Linked DNA regions of Homo sapiens: regions 1, 2 and 4 are each linked to region 3. Evidence: promoter capture Hi-C in 16 types of primary human blood cells and fetal thymus (Javierre and others, 2016). All regions are on one chromosome and are shown on one strand. Each heading gives the region's core, a stretch centred on a gene start or on the middle of the fragment in contact. The rest is flanking DNA. Distances are from core to core; before and after follow the strand shown.

What was found. Contacts are between HindIII fragments. The CHiCAGO score rates a contact against its expected background, and 5 or more counts as called.
Region 1: a contact is called between a fragment that was not itself captured here and the fragment with the promoter of LLPH in region 3, in 1 of 17 cell types (activated CD4 T cells). The highest score is 5.9, in activated CD4 T cells.
Region 2: a contact is called between a fragment that was not itself captured here and the fragment with the promoter of LLPH in region 3, in 1 of 17 cell types (activated CD4 T cells). The highest score is 7.9, in activated CD4 T cells.
Region 4: a fragment that was not itself captured here is called in contact with the fragment with the promoter of LLPH in region 3 in 1 of 17 cell types (activated CD4 T cells); the score reaches 7.2 in activated CD4 T cells.

What each region holds. Positions count from the first base shown.
Region 1 is chr12:64,393,224-64,396,204 of GRCh38, reverse strand. It overlaps the pseudogene RPS11P6. Among named protein-coding and RNA genes, the nearest start is that of C12orf56, 4.0 kb to the right of the region's middle. The HindIII fragment of the contact is 2,352 bases long and covers 210-2,561 here.
Region 2 is chr12:64,784,177-64,787,199 of GRCh38, reverse strand. It overlaps a transcript of TBC1D30 not described here. Among named protein-coding and RNA genes, the nearest start is that of GNS, 26 kb to the right of the region's middle. The HindIII fragment of the contact is 624 bases long and covers 1,049-1,672 here.
Region 3 is chr12:66,129,306-66,132,183 of GRCh38, reverse strand. It overlaps LLPH (LLP homolog, long-term synaptic facilitation factor), which reads left to right and starts at 1,434. Exons shown (of 3, transcript NM_032338.4): 1 at 1,434-1,479. It overlaps LLPH-DT (LLPH divergent transcript), which reads right to left and starts at 1,433. Exons shown (of 2, transcript NR_125724.1): 1 at 1,209-1,433. RefSeq lists enhancers at 1,411-1,520, 1,561-1,710. The HindIII fragment of the contact is 2,232 bases long and covers 859-2,878 here.
Region 4 is chr12:64,884,810-64,887,916 of GRCh38, reverse strand. The region is part of intron 1 of LINC02389 (long intergenic non-protein coding RNA 2389); the gene reads right to left. Among named protein-coding and RNA genes, the nearest start is that of LINC02389, 2.6 kb to the right of the region's middle. The HindIII fragment of the contact is 2,882 bases long and covers 273-3,107 here.

The DNA of each region.
Region 1 (2,981 bases), core at 136-2,635, 1.7 Mb after region 3:
AAACTAGACAATTTTTAAAGATTGAAAGTAAGTGTTATCCTGATTCTGTTTATGGCTAATAAATATTTCTCAGTAAATATTTGTGAAATGTATTGAGTTGAACCAAAAAGAACATAATTACGAGCTGATAGCTGCTGAGTTCTGTGTCAGATTCTCTGTGTGTTTCATCTCATTGTTCTTAAAGCCGAATGTCATTGTCACTAAAAGCTTATGCATAATGGGCTTCTTGGCAGAGAAAGAAGTTGGAAAACAGGTCAGGAATGCTGCCTTTATTGGTCCTATTCCAACCATTAGTTCCTCTTACAGGAAGTACATGTGCAGCAGGAAGCCTGAGAGGCAAAATAGAGCATTGGAGTATTATTCAGTGAAAGAAAACATTAATCCAAATCATTTGTCTGGTTTTTATAACAATGACATCTTTCCTTTGTATGTCATCTAATTACTAATAGTAGATTACTAATAGTAGATATTTAAATGATCAGTATCCATTAATAATAAGTATAGGGCTGGGCGCGGTGGCTCACGCCTGTAATCCTAGCACTTTGGGGGCCAAGGCAGGTGGATCACCTGAGGTGGGGAGTTCAAGACCAGCCTGACCAACATGGAGAAACCTTGTCTCTACTAAAAATACAAAAATTAGCTAGGTGTGGTGGTGCATGCTTGTAATCCCAGCTACTTGTGCGGCTGAGGTAGGAGAATTGCTTGAACCTGGGAGGCAGAGGTTGCGGTGAGCCAGAGGTTGCAGTGAGCCAAGATCGCACCATTGCACTCCAGCCTGGGCAACAAGAGCGAAACTCTGTCTCAAACAAAACAAAACAAAACAAAAACAACAACAACAAAAAACAAGCAACAACAACAACAACAAAAAAAACAACTAAGTTGAAGCACTAAGAGATTCCTAAATGAGACACCTTTAAAAAGTCAGGTTTAGGGCTGGGTGTGGCGGCTCATGCCTGTAATCCCAGCACTTTGGGAGGCTAAGGCAGGCGGATCACCTGAGGTCAGGAGTTCGAGACCAGCCTCAACATGGAGAAACCCCGTCTCTACTAAAAATACAAAATTAGCCGGGCATGGTGGTGCATGCCTGTAATCCCAGCTACTTGGGAGGCTGAGGCAGGAGAATTGCTTGAACCCGGGAGGTGGAGGTTGCAGTGAGCCGAGATTGCGCCACTGCACTCCAGCCTGGGTGATAGAGTGAAACTCCTTCTCAAGAAAAAAAAAAAAAGGTCAGGTTCTATTTATAGGCCACATATTCTAAATATCTTACTGTGTGTACTGTCTGTCTTTAGTTTCAAGTGGGGGGAATGGGAATACTTGGGATCCCTAGAAGCATTGAAGAGTACTTCTAGTTTGGAATCCTTACATGGTTCTCATGGCCTAACCTGCTGGTCTCTTCTCCACTAAAAATGTGACCCAAAAAAGGTAAAATTTGCCTTGGGTCAATCTCAGAAAGTTAGACTTGTATCCAATCAGAAGAATTTAATATTACCTTGTAGATAGGGAGCAGAACGACCACATATGTAACAGGAAATCACATACTTGTTGAACTTATTCTTTCTTTCTTTCTTTATTTTTTAAGACAGAGTCTCACTCTGTTGCCCAGGCTGGAGTGCAGTGGTGCCATCTTGGCTCACTGCAACCTCTGCCTCCCGGGTTCAAGTGATTCTTGTGCCTCAGCCTCCCAGGTAGCTGGGACTACAGGTGCCCGCCACCACGCTGGCTAATTTTTGTATTTTTTGGTAGAGATGGGGTTTCACCATGCTGTCCAGGCTGGTCTCGGACTCCTGACCTCATGTGATCCACCCACCTGGGCCTCCCAGAGTGCCGGGATTACAGGTGTGAGCCACCATGCCCAGTCAACTTGTTCTTTAGACGCTTATATAGTATTTACTCCAGTCCAGGTTCCTGTTCTAGGTACTATTGAAACTTTTTAAATCCTCGTAATAACCCTTTGGGGGTTGGTACTATTATCTCCATTTCATAGATGGGGAAACTGAGGCATAGGTCATTCAGCTACTGAATAGGAGAGCTGGAATTTGAACCCAGGTCATCTGGCTCTACAGTTCTATGCTCATAACTACTGTGCTTCGAATTATTTAAATTGACCATCCCTGTACCTAAGACCACTGTTCTGATGAAATTCAAGGAGACTGCATTTGAGGATTAGTCCAGGTAAGTAATGTCCCATTCCTTTTGATAATTTTGTCAAGAAACATCTATTAAGTGCTTGATTGCAGGAGTTCCTTTGCCAAATGTTTCTTGAGTTTGGATGAACTTACAAGATAAGGAGGGGGTACCTATCTTTGGTGCATTTGGGTTAACCATGTAAAACAGGGGTATCCAGGCTTTTGACTTCCCTGGGCCACATTGGAAGAAGAAGAATTGTCTTGGGCCACATATAAAATATACTAACACTAATGATAGCTGATGAGCTAAAAAAAAAAAAAAAAATCGCAAAAAAATCTCATAATGTTTTAAGACATTTATGAATTTGTGTTGGGCCACATTTAAAGCCTTCCTGGGCTGCAGGTGGCCTATGGGCCATGGATTGATGTAAAGCTTACCAAAAGATAAGGGAATGTGAATGCTTCATATGTCTGTAGTGCTCATAGAGTCTATAATTCATCACATTTGATCCTCACATTTTATAGATGATGAAACTGAGGCTCGGAAAGGTTGTGACTTTCCAAAAGTCTGATAGATAACAGAGTTAGTGCCCTTATCTAGTTCTCCTGACTCCAAATCTAGTGATCTTTCCTATATATTTAAATCCATTTCCTGCAATAGAAATTTTGCTGTTACCTTGGCAACACTGCTGTACAGTGCCTGGAAACCATTGTATTGCCTTCTCTGTGTGCCACGAAGTTAAAAGTTTAACTGAAGTCACCTTGATCACCAATCTCCCAGTCAAATTCCCTTCTTTCTGTGCTTCATTTTATTTATTTATTTATTTTTTAATTTTAGATACAGAGTCTTGCTCT
Region 2 (3,023 bases), core at 111-2,610, 1.3 Mb after region 3:
ACCACACAGCTCCCACACAGCTCTTAGTTATGATTATGCAAGAGATAGGTTACATTTGCTAAACTATGTTGCCATCTTCAGATTTCAGAGCAAGTTGTTAAGGTCCTGTTACAAGAATCGATTTCTTTAAATCAATTATTTAATTCACTTACTGTAGCAACACAGAATAAGAGAAAAAGGACATGCCTTTTAGGTTATGTCTGTGTGATGCTGTTTTATTTATTTATTTTTATTTTTATTTATTTATTTTTTTTTTGAGATGGAGTTTCGCTCTTGTCGCCCAGGCTGGAGTGCAATGGTGCGATCTCGGTTCACTGCAACCTCTGCCTCCCAGGTTCAAGTGATTCTCCTGCCTCAACCTCCTGAGTAGCTGGGACTACAGGTGCCAGCCACCACGACCAGCTAATTTTTAGTAGAGATGGGGTTTCACCATGTTGGCCAGGCTGGTCTCAAACACCTGACCTCAGGTGATCCACCAGCCTCGGCCTCCAAAAGTGCTGGGATTATAGGTGTGAGCCACCACACCCAGCCAGTGATGCTGTTTTAAAAATAAAAATTTGTCCAGGCGCAGGGGCTCACGCCTGTAATCCCAGCACTTTGGGAGGCCAAGAAGGGTGAATCACCTGAGATCAGGAGTTTGAGATCAGCCTGACCAGCCTGACCAGCAAGGTGAAACCTCGTCTCTACTAAAAATACAAAAATTAGCCAGGCCTGGTGGCGGGCGCCTGTAGTTCCAGCTACTCAGGAGGCTTAGACAGGAGAATTGCCTGAACCTGGGAGGCGGAGGTTGTATTCAGCCAAGATTACGCCACTGCACTCCAGCCTGGGTGACGGAGTGAGACTCTGTTTCAAATAAATAAATAAATAAATAAAATAAAATTGTAATCATCATTCAGCATTAGGTAAAATTATTGTCAAAGTAAAGTACTACTTCAAATCTAGAATAATAAATCTAAGGTTGTAACATTAGACATGAAGTATACATTTTAACTGAAAAATAGGAAACTGTCTGAGTTGTTCCTTGTTCTTAGTTCTGAGGGTATAAGCTTGCATTTAAAACTTCTCAATATATTCACAAACACAGACTGTTGGCTCAGCTTTCCTAACATTCTAGTTGCATGTGGCAAAAGAAGTAACCCAATTCCAGTACTTACTTCTCTTCTGTGACACAGCCTGCAAGCAGGCAGTCACAATATCACAGTTCCTCTGCACTTTATGCAGAAGCCTATCTTTCTGCTTCAGATGCCGAAGTAACTTGGCCGACTGGATGCCAATTCTGTACTTTAGCTCTCGAAGGATCGTCTTCAGTTCATTAGCGTCTATCAGTAAAGAAAAATAAGAATAACGATTAATACCTTGAGAGGAATACAAATTCCAGTGTGATATTAGTCCAAAGATAAATAGAACATCCATTTAAACCAACTAATTCTAGGTTTTCACTCAAGATTACATGTATGCATTCAGCTCGGACATTCCGATCAAATAAGTCACTCATTTATCTGCCCTGTCCATGAGACAGATACTGTAAGGTAAATTTATCCTTAAGCCTATCTGTAACATGGAGCAAAAACTCCTACTTTTACCATATCTAGCTCTGGCTGCAAATTTACTTTTCATTGCCTGAAAACTGGCATGTATATTTTGTACCACTGAAGTGTTCAGATGGTAAGCTTGCTAGAAAAGAATCTTTTTTAGTCTGTTACATTAATAATAAACCTAACAGCTAATTAAAAAAAAAAAAAAGTCTTTAAAGGCCAGGCGTGGTGGCTCACACCTGTAATCCCAGCACTTTGGGAGGCCAAGGAGGGCAGATTACCTGAGGTCAGGAGTTGGAGACCAGCCTGACCAACATGGAGAAACCCCATCTCTACTAAAAATACAAAATTAACTGGGAGTGGTGGCACATGCCTGTAATCCCAGCTACTCCAGAAGCTGAGGCAGAATTGCTTGAACCCGAGAGGAGGAGGCTGCAGTGAGCCAAGATCGCGCCATTGCACTCCAGCCTGGGCAACAAGAGCGAAACTCCGTCTCAAAGAAAAAAAAAAAAAAAAAGTCTTTAAAGTACTCATCTATGTTTACAAATGATGAGCTAAAAGTAAATAATTTTACCACATTTTGTAATGTAGATGAATGTGGCAATACTGATTTTGTTTTGAATATCCAGTCTTCCAATAGCCTAAAAACATTTTGTCTTAGAGGTACAATATTTCATCTTAGAGCCTCAGCAATTTTTCAAATATGGTAGAAAATAAATTTCCTTTACACAGATAAATTACAATAATTCTACATTCATAAAACTAATATTCACAACAGCAGTTTTTTTTTTTTTACTTTATTTTACTTTAAGTTCCAGGATACATGTGCAGAGTATGCAGGTTTGTTACAGGTATACATGTGCCATGGTGGTTTGCTGCACCCATCAACCCATCACCTAGGTTTTAAGCCCCACATGCATTAGGTATTTGTTCTAATGCTCTCCCTCCCCTTAACAGCAGTTTTTCTATAGGTCAAAACAAATTTGGGAACCAGAATTGTCTACTGTCTTTATATAAATGATCATTACGATTTGGGAGGAGGTTTTTTTTGGTCACATTTGATATGATTAGTCACTAGAGCATGATCTAGTAGGCAGGCAAAGCCTTCCACTCAACTTAACCTTAGCTAGCCCCCCATTAGAGGTTCTCTGTGGGGTTTGGATCTACTCATTTTTAAAGGGATATGGAGAAACTAAAGAGAATCAGAAGAGAAGAAAATAAATGCTCAAAAGTAGAAATGCACTCTAGAGATCAAAGTCAACTTTTGGGGTCTGTAACAAACAAATGCAGGGTTCTCAAACCTGACCTCACCATGGAAAATGCATTTGGCCCTGAGTTAAAAAGGACTGCTTTTGGATCAGCCAACTCTCTGAGTGATTTTTAGGCAAGGAAGTGTGCTCCAAGTCTCAAATTATGCCTAGCATACAGGATTATGCTGAGAAACAAATGGGTATGGTCTTTATAAACACTAACATAAATAACGCTTTA
Region 3 (2,878 bases), core at 185-2,684:
AATTATTTTTTCTGGTGCCAAGTGCCTATTCAAAAGTCTTGTCCTGGTATGTTAAACAAGATACAGTAAATATGGACTATCAGAATATAAGTTTTCTCTAAAATGCAATGTGCACTTATATTTTTGGGTGAGGTAGCTAACTTCTCATTTGAAAGATGAGGTACAGTATATGGTTAACTTGTAAAACAGAAATTCACTTGCTTTATAAGAACGAAATCTCATTTAAATAAACCAGGTTTCTTAGGCATGCTTCCTTTTTTTATATCAAATGTTCTAGGTTTTTTTCAGCCTCTTTAACCTTGCTATATTCTGAATTCAGTAATTTCCATACTATGCATGGTTTCATAAAGGACACAAATTTAAAGAAAAAAGGTACCCATAGATTGCCTCAGAACCCCTTTTTCTGGCAACCAGCAGGAGTTTACCAGGCCATCATTAAAGACATGTTTTTTGGGTATATGTCGTAAATCTCTAGAAACATTGCTTACAAATAGTACTGTGTAGCTATACTTTTGAAACTATAATGTAAAAAGGGTACCATTTGTTGAACTCTTACAGCATCAATTAGGTTGTATTATGTTCACTTTAGGGACAAGGAAATTCAGGCCCTTATGACATTAATTACTCACCCATATCGTTCACAAGTGTTGGAAGCAAGAGTACAACACAGACCTATATGGTTCCAAAGCCTATGCCAGTAGAAATAGTTGTACAGTAAGTGTTATTCGTGAGCTAAGACAATCGTCCTAGGCTTAGCATTGTGTCTGATACGTAAGTGATCAGACAGGTAAACATTGATAGAACTGAAATCCTTTGATCATTTTACCCTTTAAATTCTTCTCTGGGGTAGGAAAAGCTTGTTTTCTGTTTTTGGTAACCGCTTTGAGTATAACTGACATGCAATAAGTTGCACATATTTAAAGTGTGCAGTTTGATACGGTTTTACATATGTGTACATCTGTGAGGCCATCACCCGAGATGAGAAAATGCACAGGCTGCAAATAAAAATGATCTCAATACGGCCTCTGGAAGAACACCTGATCTAGGCTGACTTGATCTAAGGAAATACATGAGTATCATGTAAACGCTGAGGTCAGATCTAAAGGTCGGCTCGGAGCTCCCTATCTGACAAGTAGGGTCCCCTGGCCAGGTTCACTCCATAGGTTAGTCTCGGGGCTACCCTGCCCACGTCCGGAAAGCGGACCTACCTGGGGCCTAACCTTGACCGGACACCCGTCAGCATTCTCCAAATCCGACTTCTACACCTGTATGGGACGGACCAAGTTTCTAGGTCCGCGATCACACCAATGGCGGAAGCTCGTCAGCGCCCGGGTTCCAAAATCCCGCCTCTCAAGGCTTCTTGAGACATTTTGTCTCCCGGCGTGCAATGCGTCCGCCCCGGGTGGCCTCCGCCCGGAAGACGGAAGTGCAAAGACTTCCGGTCGGCGTGAGCGTGAGGTGTGGGTGTTCGTTTCTCAGGTGAGTTCGGTTCCTCACCGGTCCAGTGACACATGGGACTTGGGGCTTGATTCCGCCACCCTTGGAGAATTTCGTTTCTTGACACTCGCTGGGCTATACTTGAGCTCCAGTCCGGAGATGCAGGCCTTGTTGAGGGCGAGGGTTCCCCTTGCTCTTTTTGGTGGGGGCCCTCCGGCTTCCGAGTGCACTGGATAAAGTGGAGCCCACCCCTGTCGTTCACTCCCGCTGAAGTTAACTTCGGCCCTCAAGGTTGTTTGCCGCCCGCTTTCCTAGCCCCTCGCAAGGGTTGAGTTATGTAGACAAGGGAGCGGAATGACTGTGATTGCCGGCGTTCAAAAAATGTTAGTGGTTCGTTCAACAAGTATGCAAAAAGTGTGCGATTCAGCAGTGAACAAGACCTTTCCCTCTACCTTCGTGGAGTCTACAGTCTGGGGAGAGGGTCGGGGGGCGTGACAGAAAACAATGGTTTCAGGTTGTAACACTTAATAAGCAGGGAAGGGAGCTTACGGAGGTCAGAGGAGTCCTTTCTGAGGTAGCGAATGAAGGAGCAAGCCTTGAGAAGAGCAGTTGCCAGGCATAGGGACAGCAAATATGAAGGCACTGACGTAGAGATAGTTTGGACTCTTTACAGACGTAGTTGGTGCCTGCGGGGATGGGGATGGAGAATGAAATGAAATAGAGTTGAAGGAGGCAGGGGACAGATCACAAATGACCTTGTAGATCTTGAATATATATGAGGGAGGAGGTCTTTAAAGAACTCGAAGAAAGGCAGTGAATGCTTTTTTAAAAGATCACACTGAGCACCTTGTGGAGGATTTAGGGCGGAACTGAGTGGAAAGAAAACAAGAGTAGGAATAGATAAGTTTACAGTCGTTAAGTTGGCTTGAGAGGATGGATAATGAAGATGAGGTGAAGTGTTTATAAAAATCATTTGTAATTTGTAAGCTGTTGCATAAATGTAAGGTGATGACGCTGTTGCATTCTGGGGAAATTAAATTTCTGTATTTTGTAAAGAAATTCAGCCGGGCGCGGTGGCTCAAGCCTGTAATCCCAGCACTTTGGGAGGCCGAGGCGGGCGGATCACAATGTCAGGAGATCGAGACTATCCTGGCTAACACGGTGAAAACCCGTCTCTACTAAAAATACAAAAAATTAGCCAGGCGTGGTGGCGGGCGCCTGTAGTCCCAGCTGCTCGGGAGGCTGAGGCAGGAGAATGGCGTGAACCTGAGAGGTGGAGGTTGCAGTGAGCTGAGATCGCGCCACTGCACTCCAGCCTGGGACACAGAACAAGACTCTGTCTCAAAAAAAAAAAAAGAAAAAAGACATGCAAGGTGCTTTCAGAATTGGTTTGATTTGTAGTTTGCTTATGACCACAAGTTTGATTTGATATCTTGTTATT
Region 4 (3,107 bases), core at 464-2,963, 1.2 Mb after region 3:
AGCAGTGTCCAGATTTTCTGATGTCAATATCAGCACCGCAGAGTCTCAAGTTCCAAGTCAGTTCATTGTTGGAGTTGGGAGAATTTTCCCAGACTATAAGGCCAACAGAATTGGATGTGAAAACAACTGCTGGTGCAACTGTGACTAGGCCCTAATTAAATGAGGCAGGAAAACCCTTAATCCCAACCTCACCATATACCCTCCGGTTCAGAAACTCAGGCCTGAGCCATGCAGAAGCCAGACCCCTGTTGTTCTGCCATTTGGATGAAGCTTGTTTGTGAATAAAATACTGGAATCCATCCATTTCTCCGGATTGAACATTAGCAACTGTTTTTTTTAATTGCTTTTCTTGTTTTTGTTTTTTTAATTTGTTTTAGAAGACAGTCAATTCAAAAAAAATTTTCTTGATGTAATTCCTTTTTCAAAAATTATCTTTTTAAATTCTGGAAATCCAATGTTTATGACTTAAGCCTTGTTATTTTTATACTATTAAAGGTTTGGGGTTTAAGGCTTTGTTTTGTGTTTTTGGCAAGCCTTTAAACAAATATTGTTGTTGAATAAGAACCTCTTCAAATGTTTTACTCATTCTTTATTGACCTTTCAAGATACACACAGTAGTGACATCACAGCCACCATGTCTAGCAGTGACACTCCAAACCATTTACCAGGCAAACTTAAGGAGTGGTTCATTCTCTGCACCTGGTGGGGATGGACAGTCCCTCCTGGAGGGGATCCATTGGTTACCTCTAAGATAATTTCAAAAGAAGGTGGAACTGGGACTCTCTGGGGCTGACTACTTTCTCAGGGAGAGGCATCAGGTGCAAAGCTATTTTTATCTCTTCAAAGCTCTACAACACAGGCTAGTCTTCCCCTCCCCCAACTATTTCTAGAAATTTGAAATGTTATTGTATCAGTCAAGACTAAATTGCTGGCACCAAACCCAAATTGAAGAGAAGACTTTTGGAGGGTAAGGGGTGGAGTATCCTCATTTATTGGAAACACTTTGCAATCATTCCACTCAATTTAGGAGGGCTGTGAAAATATAAGCATAAATAAAAATAATATATAAAACAACATAAACAATACAAATAACATCATGTATGGATTTTTGGCTGTGAAAATTATAACAGCAACTTATTACTATGAACAGCATGCTAAGTAAAAATGGTCCTATTCTTAGCTGAAGCACATTCTAATCTCTAGGTCTGTCTCTATCTCTGTCTTTCTAAATTATCTATACTATTTCTATACCTATACCTATATCTCTCTACATATGTAGCTCAGAAACTTTGTACTTGCTGTTTCCTCTTTCTGGAACATTCTTTCCCCCAAATACATGGATGAGGCCTTCTGACACTATAGCAGTCCCTAACAGCAGCTGTGGGCTCTCCTGTGATTCTCATATCAGTGAGCCTCCTACACCAATGATATACTCCATGCACATGGTGGGGGTTAGGGGATTGGGAACATATGGCAACTTGCCAATGTCAGAATGTTATTTTAAGTCACTTAATTACACCGAGCTACAGATTTTCATCAGTGAAAAAAAAGAGTGGTCCAGACTGGTAGTTTCCAAACTCTGTTCCCCAGAACCCCAAGATCTCCCCCAAAGCAACTTCAGGGGTAATGCTGGCAACCAGAGAGGAAACCAGTGTGCAGAGCTCTGGCCTCTCTGCCCCCACCTGAATGAGGGTAGTGGTTCAGTTGTACTCCAAAAGTCCAGATATTCACCCTAAAACATACAGGGATTTAGTATGTGATTATAAAGGTGGCATTTTTAATCAATAGGGGAAAGATTAATAAATGGTGCCGGCACCACTAGGTAACTATTTGGAAAAAATAAATGTTAAGATGGAACCTTAGTTCCCAACTTACACAAAAGTAAATTCCAAATGAGTCAGATTTAAACATAAAAAATGAAACCATAAAACTAGTAGAAGGAAAAAATTAAAGAACTTTAACCACAAAGAAGTAGAGAGAGCCTTTCCAAACATCACACAAAACCCAGAAGCTATAATAGAAAAGATTAATAGATATGACCAAATAAAAATGACCTTAAATCTATATACATGTCAGTAAATCAGCATGAACAAAGTCAAAAGATAATTGACAAAATGAGAAAAATATTGTGACACAGATTACAGACAAGGATGTTTTTCTTAACGCATAAAAAACTCACAAATCAGTAAGAAAAAGGCTGGGTGTGGTGGCTCATGCCTCTAATCCCAGCACTCTGGGAGGCCGAGGCAGGCTGATCACGAGGTCAGGAGATCAAGACCATCCTGGCTAACATGGTGAAACCCCCATCTCTACTAAAAAAAAAATACAAAAATTAGCCAGGCGTGGTGGCGGGCACCTGTAGTCCCAGCTACACGGGAGGCTGAGGCAGGAGAATGGCATGAACCCGGGAGGCGGAGCTTGCAGTGAGCCGAGATCGCACCACTGCACTCCAGCCTGGGCAACAGAGTGAGACTCCATCTCAAAAAAAAAAAAAAAAAAACCAGTAAGAAAAAAAACAGCAAGAATGAGCAAAGCCTATGAACAAAGGACATATAAATAACTTTTAAATATATGTCAACCTTATGCATATTTTTCAAACATACATTAAGTACTCACCCAATCAGAAAAGATCAAAAAATTTGATAAGATTCTCAGTAATGTGGGGGTAGGAGGAATTGGGCACTTCCTTACATTGCTGATGGAAGCAGAAACTTATGGAACATCTGTGGAGAGCAATTTGGCAACATGTATCAAAATTTTAAATGTGCATTGTTGACAAGTAATTCCATGTCTTAGAATTTATTCTTTAGCTAACTTCCTTATTAGCAATATTACATCATATGTACAAGGATATGCATATTCCATAGATATGAAATTGGAAGCAAACAAATAATCTAATAATAGATTAGAGAATAAATGTATTGTGCACAGACCTGAAATGGAAATCTATGCAGCAGTAAAAAAGAACGAGGTGGCTCTACTTGCACTGTTCTGGAACAATCTCCATGGTACATAGTGAAAAAGGAAAGTTCAGAAGGTTATTGTGTTACTGCTTACGAAAGTGTGTGTGTGAGAATGTGCTTGAATATGCATAAAACATCTCTGAA